Regions from separate parts of the Homo sapiens genome. Here region 1 is linked to region 2. The links are contacts of gene promoters, found by promoter capture Hi-C in blood cells and fetal thymus (Javierre and others, 2016). All regions are on one chromosome and are shown on one strand. The core of a region is centred on a gene start or on the middle of the fragment in contact, and the rest is flanking DNA. Distances in the headings are between cores, read along the strand shown.

The links. The method cuts DNA at HindIII sites, captures the fragments that hold promoters and counts their contacts. A CHiCAGO score of 5 or more calls a contact.
Region 1: a contact is called between a fragment that was not itself captured here and the fragment with the promoter of NUDCD2 in region 2, in 2 of 17 cell types (non-activated CD4 T cells and total CD4 T cells). The highest score is 7.2, in non-activated CD4 T cells.

What each region holds. Positions count from the first base shown.
Region 1 is chr5:144,185,231-144,191,863 of GRCh38, reverse strand. The region is part of intron 2 of KCTD16 (potassium channel tetramerization domain containing 16); the gene reads right to left. Among named protein-coding and RNA genes, the nearest start is that of KCTD16, 18 kb to the right of the region's middle. The HindIII fragment of the contact is 2,014 bases long and covers 1,411-3,424 here.
Region 2 is chr5:163,458,478-163,465,338 of GRCh38, reverse strand. It overlaps NUDCD2 (NudC domain containing 2), which reads left to right and starts at 5,237. Exons shown (of 4, transcript NM_145266.6): 1 at 5,237-5,477. The coding sequence starts at 5,289. It overlaps HMMR (hyaluronan mediated motility receptor), which reads right to left and starts at 4,707. Exons shown (of 18, transcript NM_001142556.2): 1 at 4,601-4,707; 2 at 1,385-1,483; 3 at 537-616. The coding sequence starts at 4,646. RefSeq lists enhancers at 4,461-4,520, 5,271-5,520 and a silencer at 4,851-4,940. The HindIII fragment of the contact is 3,644 bases long and covers 2,323-5,966 here.

The DNA.
Region 1 (6,633 bases), core at 1,168-3,667, about 19 Mb after region 2:
AAAGGCCTAAAGTTTATTTGTACTGCTGAAAAAAAAAAAAATGGAAATACGCAGCTCCATGCAGAAGCACTGCCGCAAACACTCACTGTTAGCCTGAGATGCATAGAAAAACAGGGAACTGTCTCGGCTGTTGAGATAATTTAGCAGACAAGTCTAGAGAGAGATAAGTGGAGGCAAAAGCTGGTAAACACCCCCAAAGAGGAGGTGAGATTTCTTAAAGAAATCTGAGGAAGGATAACTCAGCCAGCTGTCTTCAGGGCTTAGGGAGGGAGGATGAGAGGAATGAGAGGAAATATCATGACTAGACAGAGTTGCTATTGCACTTTGAAGGACAGGTGGAACCTAGAAAACAGAAGCTAAAGGTTCTATGTAGAAGGGAAAAGTGGTTGAAAAAATATGTGTGTAAGTGTGTCAGGGGGTATATGGAGGGGAGCAGCAGTTGGGAAAAGAACAGTCAATTATCCAGTTTGGCTGGAGCAAAAGGCACCAGTGAAAGAACAGTGGAGGAGTTTGAACTTAATTCTGTAAACACTAAGTAGTCATTGTGAGTTTTTGAGCAGAAATGACAGAAACAAGTTTCTCAACGACCACCACTTCTACAGAGTAACTCAGAACTCATCTACCCTCTCCCCAGCATCCCTTTGCTCACTTATCAGGGAGGACTTCCACCAATGATTCCCATTCAATGTCCCCACTGACAGGTGTGGCTTTGACATTAAAGCAATAAGAATTTCCGTTTTTACAACAGTATTAAAAAATATTTTCCCTCTATCCCCCAGCCATGAAAGAAAGGGAAATAAAGATAAAAGCTGCTCTATTACCCATTTGGCAAAGTGAAGAATGGTGTACATTGAATGTCGCACATTAACGACAATCAGTGAGGCTCACCTTCAGCAGAGAATGAGAATGTTTTATGTGTGTTGTGGTGTGTGTGTGTCTGTGAGTGCCCATTCACTCATTCATTCAGTAAATGTTTGTTTAGTATGTTCCACATGCTAGGCATTGCCATAGGCAATGGGGATTCCACAATGAACACAAAAGAGCTGAAGCTCCTGCCTTCATAGAGCTCACATTCTAGACAATAAATGAATAAGCATATAGAATGTCAGATGATAATAAATATAGTGGAGAAAAATAAAATAGAATATTAATTACTATGTTACTGGGGAGGGGTATTAATAGCAAAGGGACAGAGGGGACAAGGAAAGAGGTAGGGGAAAAGTGTGTTCTTTAGTAGTTTAAGCTAAAAAAGGCTTTTTCCAGTCAGGTGAACTATAGTAAAGAAAGGAATTTTCATTCAACAATCAATCGTAATATTAATAGATATAATAATAGATACCAATTACTGAATCACTACTACATGACTGTCACTATGCTGAGCATTATTTCATTTATTCTTCACAATAAGCTTTGTTAGTGTGACACTTATAGGCACAAAGGAAAGTGAGGCATCGTAAGAAAGAGAGAGAACGGAAGGAGAGAGAAGCCAAGGTTCAGATAAGTCAAGTAGCTAGCCCAAGTGATCTTACGCAAATGTACAGAACGTGGATTTGAGTGCAGACACTCTGACTCCAAAGCCTGCACTCTTAACCCAGACACTGGGTTGAGGTACAGAGATAAATAAGTCATGGACTCTGCCTTGGAATTGCTCATAGTCTAGTAAGAGAGACAGACTCGTAAACAAATAAATCCAGTGCAGTGATAGGAGCTATAATAGAGGTATAATAGCGTTAAGGAGACACAGAGGAAAGAGTGACTAAGTGCCTGGCTGCGGGTGGGGTGAAGGGTTATCAAAATGCAGACATATTCATTTGTGCTTATGTAATTCATTGCTCTCGCTGGGTCTGGTTACTCACAACGAATCTGCAGTTCCCTCCAAAACCTTTTCCGGTGGATTTCCCCAGTCTGTCTTCACAGGTTGTGGGTTGTCAGCCTCATCCTGAATGCAATAAGTAGTTCTGACACAGAGGCCACATAAACTCTTTAAAGCCACTGTGGAGAAGGAAGGGAAATAACAATATAGCAGTCTACCTTAACTACCTTCATAAAAGGCTAAGGAATATGGCAACCATGTGAATTAAAATGAGATGACCAATATAAGGGAAAAGAGGAAAAATGCTGGCAAACCACCTGAAAAAACTAAAGGGCATGTGTATTGTGATACAAGGTGGCTGACAACAGTTACTCAGAAAGGAAAATTATATTCCGTGAAGGTCCTTATTACCTAGCACGATTTGCTTTAAGCCTCCATTCTTAACCTAGGTCTGCAAACGGGATTCACAAAATTCATGAATTCCCTGAAATTGTATGCAAAACTCTATGTACCTGCTCTACATTTTCTTTTTCTTTTTTCTTTTTTTTTTTTTTTGAGATGGAGTCTCACTCTGTCACCCCGGCTGAAGTGCAGTGGCGCAATCTAGGCTCACTGCAAGCTCCGCCTCCCAGGTTCACGCCATTCTCCTGCCTCAGCCTCCCGAGCAGCTGGGACTACAGGCGCCCGCCACCACACCCGGCTAATTTTGTTACTGTATTTTTAGTAGAGTCGGGGTTTCACCATGTTAGCCAGGATGGTCTCAATCTCCTGACCTCGTGATCCGCCCGCCTCGGCCTCCCAAAGTCCTGGGATTACAGGCGTGACCTGCTCTGCATTTTCTAGAGATCCCAAGAGTTCATCCAAATTTCAAAACAGTACATGTTCTCCAAGTAGGTTAAGAGCTGTGCGTTAAATACTTTCAGAACTGCTACTCCAGTAGATTTAAGTATAAAGAGCCTGGCATATCTTAGAGGGTCCAAAATGTCTAAGTGCATCCTTTGATATCATTGTTATTTATTGCCTTTATCAATGTGTTTGCAAATTACTGGTGCTACTTAGACACCCTACACATGAATATAAGGCCTTACCATGACAACAGGGCTTGCTTTTGATTATGTTGTGTATAGTTGATCTTTTATCTCTCTTTTGGAACTTCTTTGTAGAAAGATTCACTTTTCAAAGAAGCTGTTCACTCAGTATTGATTCTCAACTTTTTGTGGCAGGGGAGGGGAGGTGAGTATTTGATTAGGAATATTACAATGCCCCATTTGGTGTTTTCAAGCTGACCTCTCACCTGACTCTTTTCCACTCCAAACCCCTATTTCATAACTCAAGTTATTTATCTGTTGATACATTTCTCTTCATGTATATTTGGATCACCTTAGGCACAACAGCTTAAATTTTATTTTGGTTAGATGCCTCTTTATTACATTTGATTTATAGTCATTGAAAAAGTTTTGAGGATAGTGGAGAATCTTCCACCTTTTTACTGATGCTGCTCAATGACAAATTTGCCAGAGGTTGAAATGTCCTACCTACTAACCATCAGCCTAGCCACTTTTGGTTAAGCACCCTTTGTGGGTTAAAGAAAAGAGTTAGGATGAGAAAGCTTACCACCAGATGTATCATTCTAAACTCCATCAGGAAATGCATTCTTAAAACTAACTTTGACTATTTTCTCATGTACTTTCTCTTGACAGACATAAGAAAACAGATCTAGGATGAGAATGCGGCCTTAATGATTCCCTACTGCTAAATAACAGTAAATCTGGAAGAGGTACAAAGCTAATATCTATTAGCTTTTTGTAAGTACCAAAGGACAATACACATAGAAGGATCACATTAACAGAAAAATCCAGATGAAATGTAAGATATGGACAATTAATTACCAACCAAAACATTTGCCTAGACTCAACCCCATCAAAGAAGCCTTGCTGTTGTGATAAGAAGCAAGAAACCTATAATGATGGCAGATTATCAGAGCCTCTTGCCAACCCTGGTGAAAAACAACTCCAGATACATAATTTTTCAGTCTACTATGTCTAAGCTAGGCTCAGACAGAAGAGTGCTGTCTACTAGATTAACCACATCCACTTCCGGTGGGGCTGGAGACGTGGTTACTGAAGCAATGGCTTGTGCAAATATTTTTTGATGAAATCACAGCCTGAAGTAGAAGAGCTGCTGGCAAAAATAATCTAAACAAAGATCCTGGCTGGTTTCCAATAAATAGCCTTCTTTCCTCAAACATTTAACACAACCTAAGACATCTGGAACTTGTAGAATCATTTTTCCAGGCAAAAGCAAAAATTTTACAGAATATTTGATTAACAGCAAGACTCTGGGGTACACAAAGAAATCCAGAGATCAACTGCTAAAGAATAAATTTAATAAACAATTAAGCAATTAAGAAGTCTACCTACTGCCAGCCTCAAGTCATTAATGATTCAGTGAAAACAACTCATTTTCATATTTTCCTCTGTATATGCTTCATCAATAGAATTAAAATCTGAGGAAAAGGGGGAACCCAAGTGATATTTTGTTATAGCTAGAAGAATAAACAACATTTTTTCTCTCTTGCCCCCTGTGTGTATGTGTGTGTGTATATGTGTGTGTGTGTGTGTGTGTGAAATCAGCTCTTACCTTTGAAACTCTAAAATTTATTGACTCTGTTATTTTTTAATCCCTCCCTGTTAGAAATAGAAAGGCAGTGCTAGGAATGAATAGAAAATGAAGACTAAAATATTACCTGAAATTTGCATTCAATATGCATAGTAACAACTATTACAATAATGAGCCAGTACAATGCATTATGTCATTGGCAGGCAGAAAATTGTTATAAGTGGTTTGCAATATCTGTAGCTAATAATCTGGAAAAAAAAATGAGTCTAAGAAATAAATGAGATTTGTCAGATCTTTCAAATAAACATGTAAGAAGATTTGTGTTCTATGAACTATTTTTTATGTTTATGTATATATGGAATTTAGGAACTGAAAAGCCCTAAGGAGTTCTTTGACTATTTGAGGAGTGATTATTTGAATCATGTTTCTCTCCCCCAGTGACACTGTAAGCGCTGAGAGGGAAGGGATCATTATTATTTTTGTTCATTATTATATCCCATCCCCAGCACCTGGCACAGAACCTGACACATAATAGGTGTTGAATAAAGAGTTACTGAATGAATAGATGGATCAATACATCCCTATTCCAGTTTCTTTTTGTCTTCATTATTCAGCTGAGAAAACTGAGGCCAGAAAAGCTACACAGCTAATGTTACATTTCTAGTGGTTAAAAAAGTTAATAATCCTTTACCTTGATCAGTTTGGTAATATTAAAACTTTAACATACATAGAGTATATTGCCCTTGATGCTCTGTCTTTGGATTGGGCATGTGTTGAGGAGAAAATGTGGATACCTGGAAAACAGTTTGGCCTTGTTTAAACAAACTGGTTTTTTAAAGTCCTTCTGCTTTCTTTTAAGAGGTGAGAGAGCTTTGAGACAGACTTTTCAGCTATTTTTTAAAACTACAAATCTAGAATATTGTTAAAGCACATATAAATAAAATAAATGCAATGCTTATGATGATGAATAGTTCTGACTGGCAGCATGTACAATTTTTTATTTAAACTTTAAACCAATTCCCTTAGGCTCTGAACAGGGACAATAAGCCATTAGTTTTTTTTTTTTTCTTTTTTTTTTTAAAAAAAATGAGATCTAGCACAAACTTCGTAGAATATACTTCATATTTACATATTTCTTTCTTACATAACTGTAGACTTTAGATGCTAGTGTAAACTCTAATTGTTTTCTGGGTTGGCCATATGAGAGTCTCTGCTGTCTTTCCTGGTAGCAAACATCAAGCATAACTGATGAATTATTCTGTTTCTTTTGTGGGCCACAGTTTCCATATGTGACAAGTAAGCTACCTTATGATATGAATGATAGATTATAGAAGAGGCTCTGAAGACAGCCTGGTGTTCAAATGTTAGAATACAGAAGAGATTCTGAAGCTCACTTGGAGTTCAAATCTTGACTTCATCAACTGGGTCACCTAGGGCAAGTTATCATATTCCCTTCCAGGTACACCCAGAAACTTTTGCACCTCAGGTATCTTACCAGTAAAACAGGATGATAATAGCACTTGACTTAGAGAGTTCTTGTGAGGATTAATTGAGCCAATACATGTAAAATACTTAGGACAGCATTTATTATATAGTAAGTACTAAATTGATGTTACCTATTGTTATTATCTTTTTATTACTCAAATCATTCATGACAAGAAAGGGGTTTTTTTTTAATCTTAGTAATTTCACTCATGTATTTATTCCTAATGCAAAAAAGCTCCCTATCTCCCAAGAAAACAATAAAATGTAAATGGGTGTCTAGTAATACTGCATGAGAATTATCCCTCCCCTACTCCAGGTTTCTGTGCTTCAGGCTGTATTGCTGTCACCCTTGCTCCAGGTACAGGTGCATGACTTACTTGGGTAGACTGGTCACAGCATTTTATACTCCCTGCCACCATTTTTATTACAGCAATGGACATGAAGCTCAACCAGAGCCAAAAAAGATGTGATTTGGGAACATTTTCTGGGACCATTAAGATATATGATATTGTTTGAGCCACTGAATTCAAACAAATCTGAAGCTAGCTGTACCCTAGACTTGGCATCCACTGAGGCAATGAGTATCTTCCTACAATGCTATCAATTTGCATTTAATTTTCTGTTGTCTGAAATACAAACTTATACAGAAGAGGTGTCCAATAACAAAGATGTAGGTGATATTTTAAAAGACTGAGTAGGTGTCAGAGAGGCAAAAT
Region 2 (6,861 bases), core at 3,988-6,487:
ATAAATAAAATTTAAAAAGTACTATGCAGCTTGCCTGTTTATAAACTTATGAAAAGAGTAATAGTAGCTCTTGCACAAGCCACAAGACTATTAAGAATTTAATCTCTCACCACTCCTTAACAGTTTCTCAGTAGCAAACCTCTCTTAGATATTGGCATTTTTTCCCACTTTTCTTCAAAAACACTTACCCTTCCCCACAAACAAATACACAAAAACAAAACAACTCAAATGGTGGTACTTAATAAATCAAAGCATCACATAATTTTGAAATGTTTACTAGGTAATGAACAATTTAAACATAGAAGTGATTGAGAATTGAAGACCATTATAATTGTGAACTAAGGGCACATTTAAACATAATGACCTAGGCAGAAATGTAAAACTTGCTAGAGTTCTAATGATAACTCATTTCATTAATTTACAGATTTACTTATAACCTTGATTCATACACTTAACCCATTCTAATCAAATACAATACTTTCAGATGTTTTTGATGATACACTTGATAAACCAGCTGGCATATAAAAGCTCCTCACCTTTGATTCCGAAGACTTAACTTTTCTAGCTGAAGCAGGCAAGGTAGTATCTTTGTCAACATTAAGATTTTGTTTAGATTCTGCGGAAAAATGAATTGTACAGATCATGGTTGATGTCAATGTGTTTTAACTACACACAAAACACAATTTCCAAATTTTTTTGTCTTTCTCTTTTTGTTTGTTTTTGTTTTTTGAGACAGTCTCACTGTCACCCAGCCTGGACTGCAGTGGTGTCATCTCAGCCCACTGCAACCTCTGCCTCCCAGTTTCAAGCAACTCTCCCACTTTCCTCCCTAGTAGCTGGAACCACAGGCGCACCCCACCACACCTGGCTAATTTCTGTATTTTTAGTAGAGATGGGGTTTCACCATGTTGGCCAGGCTTGTCTCGAAATCCTGAACTCATGTGATCCACCCACCTTGGCCTCACAGAGTGCCAGGATTACGAGCACGAGCCACCTTGCCCGGCCCCAAATTTCTAATTACAACTTTTGATGAAACAATATATTCTTTCCTTAGTTGTACATTTTCAAATAATTACTCATACAATTTTTTTACACATCTAACACCTTTCTGATTTTCCTAATATTCCCTGACAAGTCAAGGTAATTACCAAAAGGGAAGCTACATATCAATATAAGTATCTTGCTTAATTTTCCTGGTTATATAACAATGTAATGATGACAGCATTATTCTGTACTTGACCCTTTCATAAATCCATCAAATAAAATTTAAATATAGTTCTAGCTTCACATTTTAAAAAATGCTATAACATCTTTAAATATTGTTATTCATAACTTTAAAACTTATAAGATCACATAACCATTGTTCTTTGGTGATCTATATTACCTTTTTGTTGTTTAAATCTTTGTGATTTCTGAAAGGATACTGGTCCTTTCAATACTTCTAAAGTTTTAACATCATAAGCACCTGGAGATGGTGCACAACCTAGAGGAAATAGAAAACATTAATATATTATCTAATGTTACTTATGATCTTAAGTTAAAACATGTCATAATAAAGTGAATATAAATGTAAAAATGTCATTAACAAACTGCTTTTTTTAAATGTAAAAAATTGCATCCATTTGATATTACAAAGAAGGCCTCTCTATGAAGAACAATATCATCTTGCCCTTTATATCAACCGGGTCAAAGGAACACAGGCAACTGAGCAAACGACAGTTTTGAGATGAACATCATATATTACAGGCAATATATGGCTTTCTTACTAAGGATTGAATATAGCAAATAAAATACTTGGTGTCAACTCTACTCGAAGAGAGTCACAAAGATAACTACTATCAGTTTCTAGAAATAAAGTAATTAAAATTGTCTATCCCTCAATGTTTAGCCTAGAATAAAAATTTATAGTGATAATCCATCTCTGGCTAATATCAATACATCAGACCTATTAAAGATGTCAACTGCAATTCAAACACATGGAAGAAAAGCAACCACACTAGAGCAACTAGAATTTTTTGAGCACTTACTAAATGCCAGGCATTATGCTAAGCATTTCACAGATGTTATTTTATTTAATCCTCACAAGAATCCTGTGTGATAATTTATAGACAAAGAATGTGAGGCTTAGGAAATTCAAAAAGCCAATGTTACACAAAGTACAAATTGTACTAGACTATATTTGTATGTTCCAGAAGTTTATACTGCATAATTTCACTTAACTAAAGTCCCAGATTTGAAGGCATTTCTGAGTAAATACACATAGCAGACCTGAGATGGGGCCTTTAGGACTTAAAGTAATTAAAATACTACTAGCCTAAAGCTTTAGCTGATTGGGAACAAATAGATTAATACTATTCTCTGAAAAGCTATTTACTTCAGTCTAGAGTCTCATGCAAATAAATAGGAAGAGCAAGGAGCTTGGACCATTCCCAGGCAACTACTGCTGTCCCCTAAATGTTTGTCAAACAGTAGACAGGAACTCATGATTTTTTTTTTTTTTTTTTTTTTTTTGAGACGGAGTCTTGCTCTGTTGTCTAGGCTGGAGTGTAGTGGCGCCATCTTGGCTCACTGAAACCTTTGCCTCCTGGGTTCAAGCGATTCTCCTGCCTCAGCCTCCCGAGTAGCTGGGATTACAGGCTCCCACCACCACGCCCAGCTAGTTTTTTGTATTTTTACTAGAGACAGGGTTTCACCATGTTGGCCAGGCTGGTCTTGAACTCCTGACCTCAGCTGATCTCTCTGCCTCGGCCTCCCAAAGTGCTAGGATTACACGTGTGAACCACCAGGCCCAGCCCCATGAGTAGATCTTGATTAGCATTTTTTAAAAAGTAAAAACAATAGAAAAAGCATGACTCATATGCTGCAAAGTTAGGCATTGTTTTGTGAAACTTTTCTTTCGTATGTATGTGTAGAGATATAAAAATACATCTTAGGTTGAAATATAAATTTTGGGGGTTTTTTTGCTTTTTTTTTTTTGAAACAGAGTCTCGCACTGTCACCCAGGCTGGAGTACTGGAATATGAAAAATCACCACAGTGCCTCATACACATTAAGCATCAAATTAATAATTAGTATTATTTCTGTAACTGTGAGCCTGAAATACTATATCTTTGATAAAGCCAGTTTAACCTACTATAATGCAAACAACAAAAAAACCAAAAAAACCTTAAAGCCACACTGCTGACAAAACTTAAGAGTAGGTCCTTTGATTACTCGGGAAATCATATGGTCCTTGAGTCTTTTAACTAAGAAAATAAGTTTGTGCTGATTCACTTGCTCATTTGGCCTTCCTTTGTGAGTAGTTGTATTTTCATTCACACGTTGGCTGACAAAACTTAGAGACGTAATGAGTAACCACGAAATAGTGTATGATAGTGAATAAATCATGAGCTTTAATATTTAGCTCTACCACTTACTGATTGTGCAAGATACAAAACCTCTGTTTTCTCATCTGTAAAATGAGGTCAATATCAGTACCTTCCTCACTTGGCTTTTGGAAGGAATAAACAAGATCTAGTAGCACAGTCCCAGCATACAGCATTTTTTTTTTTTCTGTAAGACAGAGTCTTGCTCTGTCGCCCAGGCTGGAGTGCAGTGGCGCGATCTCGGCTCATCGCAAGCTCCGCCTCCCGGGTTCACGCCATTCTCCTGCCTCAGCCTGTAGTCAGCTGGGACTACAGGCGCCCGCCACCGCGCCTGGCTAATTTTTTTTGTATTTTTAGTACAGACGGGGTTTCACGGTGGTCTCGATCTCCTGACCTCGTGATCCACCTGCCTCGGCCTCCCAAAGTGCTGGGATTACAGGCGTGAGCCGCCGCGCCCGGCCGCATACAGCATCTTAAATGATGAGTGCCTACCAAACACAGCTAAGGCTTCCTGGTTACTGTGCTGTGCATTGCGGTGTTAAGAGCACACGATGGGGGCTGGGTTCATATTCCAGTCCGGTCACTTTGGTAATGTAGCACTGAGCAAATTTAAGTCTCAGTCTTTTTATCAATAAAATAATAATAGGATTACCCCTTAGAGTTGGTGGGAAATTAACATAACTAATAATCGATGTAAAGCCTTAGTACGGTGCTTGAGGTATAAGTGGTCAATATCAGCCATAACTTCATTGTTTATGTTTTCAATAAGTGCTGCTGCTCTAATTTTACACCCATAAACTGCCTTTACTAATCTTCCTTCTTTTATGCCCAAATGGAATACACAAAAGAAATGCACAAGTTCAGACTACAAGTAATACTCCAGTGTTCTTATCAGTGAGGCCCTCTCGGACTTGAAAATCAAGTAGCTACCAACGTCTCGGGTCCATTCCCTTCGCCCTGCTGTAGTTTCTCCATTACCGCTGTTTATTGACAGTATTCCCCGCCTGAATGTAAGCCCCACGGGGCGGAGACTGTTTCACTGCGGTATCCTTAGCATCCTGATTAGTGCTTGGCATGTAACAGATGCTTAGAGCATATTTGAGAAAAATCAATCAACTGAATGAGCCCCAGCCCGACCCTAAAATCGCCTCCTGCTTGCCTCCCAAGAAGGGAGCTGAAAGAGGCAAAGGGCGTTAGGGCGTCTCCCGTCCCCCAGCTCTTTCCCCCTTACGCACCAGAAGGGTCATTGAATCGTTTCAAGGGCGCCTTAGGAAAGGACATGTTGACGGCCAGCTCCAGAAACTGAAGGTGACTGGCACTCCTCGACAACTGAATGCGGATTATCACTCCCTACCGGTTTCAAATTCAAATCTCCCCACATTCCCCACCCACCCCGGCGTTAGCCAATTGGAAAGCCAAACCCCTGGGCACACCAATCCCGCACAGGAACACGAAGAAAGAATGCTGGGTTCTGATTGCGTCCAATTAGCTGGCCTGCGAGTTTAGGCTGCCATCCAATAGGAGACCGTTACTGTTCCCCGCCCCACCCACCCAGTCATTCCCGGAGTTACTCAAGTGTAACCTAGCATTTGCGCAAGCGCACTTCCCTCCGGAGACGTTAGAAAGTGCATTTTGGCGTCACTTAGGGGACGGTGTAGTGAGTTCCGGCTTCACTGGTTCCAATTCTGTCCCATTGTTCGTTGCATGTGAACTTTTCTGGATTTCAGTTCTTTCATCCGGGGCCTGCCGGTGCCGTAAACGGCCATTCAAAGGGAAAAACGAACACGCACACCAAAGCGCTAGCTTGCGTTCCTGCGCATGCGCAGTGACCCGAGCGGAGAGGCCGAGGCGTAGCCTAAGCGTGGGATTCCGCGCGTGCGCTCGGCTCCGCCTGGTGCGGCCGCGGCCGGGAGGGACTGGATTATGTCGGCCCCGTTTGAGGAGCGGAGTGGGGTGGTACCGTGCGGGACCCCGTGGGGCCAGTGGTACCAGACCTTGGAGGAGGTGTTCATTGAAGTTCAGGTGCCGCCAGGCACGCGCGCCCAGGATATCCAGTGCGGCCTCCAGAGCCGGCATGTGGCGCTGTCGGTGGGCGGCCGCGAGATCCTCAAGGTAGCGGCAGCTCGGGGCTTGTGTTCAGTTTCCTCTTCCCAGACGCCCCCAGCCCCGTTTCCCTGAACGACTGTTGGGTGTCCCGACGGCTCCTGTGGCTGGCAGAAAGAGAAAGAGGATAACACTGACCAGGTTTGGGTCTGGTCAGAGCCCCCGCCTCTTCAGGGCAGGTGCTGAGTTGTGGAAATTTGAGGAGCCTATTTTCGTGTTTAGTTTTCAAACTAAGACTGCTGCTTCTGCTTCTCTGACGGGCTTCAGCTGGGAACAGATTAACTAGGTTGCTAAAGGAACAAATATTTCTTCCGTGCACTGAAGACAGGCAGGAAGACAACAGATAACGTACCTGCAGTGGAGAGGTTAAGCTCCTGTACGGAAGCGTAATTCATAAATAGATAAATATAGGAAAGGACAACAAAGAAAATAGGGATAGAATAACGGGCAGAGAATTTAGAGATGATGTCAGGTGATTAGTTTTCTCATCTAAAAGCTTGAAAATCCTGCATGTTTGTGGAGTGGTCAAGCAGGTGGTGAAGAGGTGTGTGCATAAAATAAGTAGTACTCCTTTTATTTCTTTTCACCAATGCTCTTTGGATCTGGACCCGCTTTTTCTTTGTTAAGTGTATAATTAAACTAACAGGTTGAAATTAGATTTAGTTCTCAGGTTAGATGCCCAAGATGTTTGATGGCAGTGTAATATGGTGAAGGGAGACTACTTGTTTCCTAGTTTTGTAAACTTGGGCGAGAGATTGTTCAGTGTCTCTATATCTTCCTTATCCACAAGATAAGGTAGTTATAGTACCCTTCTCATGGGATTGTTTTGAGCTTAACATGGTATTCACGTGTATGAAGAGCTTGGAGTATTCACTGGTATGTAATAAGTTCATACTATATGTTAGCTATTAGCTATTATATATATTACAGTATATGGAGGTGCTTTGAGTGCCTCAAGATTCGTGTGAAAGACATTATGTCAGCTTGGATCTCAGTTACTTTTCTGAATTGTACAATTCATAGTTTCCTCAACAATGGTTTTAGATTACGATTATAAATTAGTAAATCCAGTAACTTTCGGAATTTAGCAGTAGCTGCTGAATTTGGGATTTCTGATGTACGTATAGACCAGTGGGATTTTTTTCTCACTAATTTTGACATATTTTAAAATGTGGGCTTTTCCTAGTGACATTTAATTTCACTTTCTATAACTTAAATTTGGCAACAAATTAAAATGGATTTGAGTTTAGGCATTCTCTCTTTAAAAAAAAATATATATTTATTGAGACAGGGTCCCTGTCTCCCATGCTGGGGTGCAGGGGTGAGATTGTAGCTCACAGCAGCCTCAAACCCATGGGGTCAAGCAATCCACGTTGGCCTCCAAAGTCCTGGG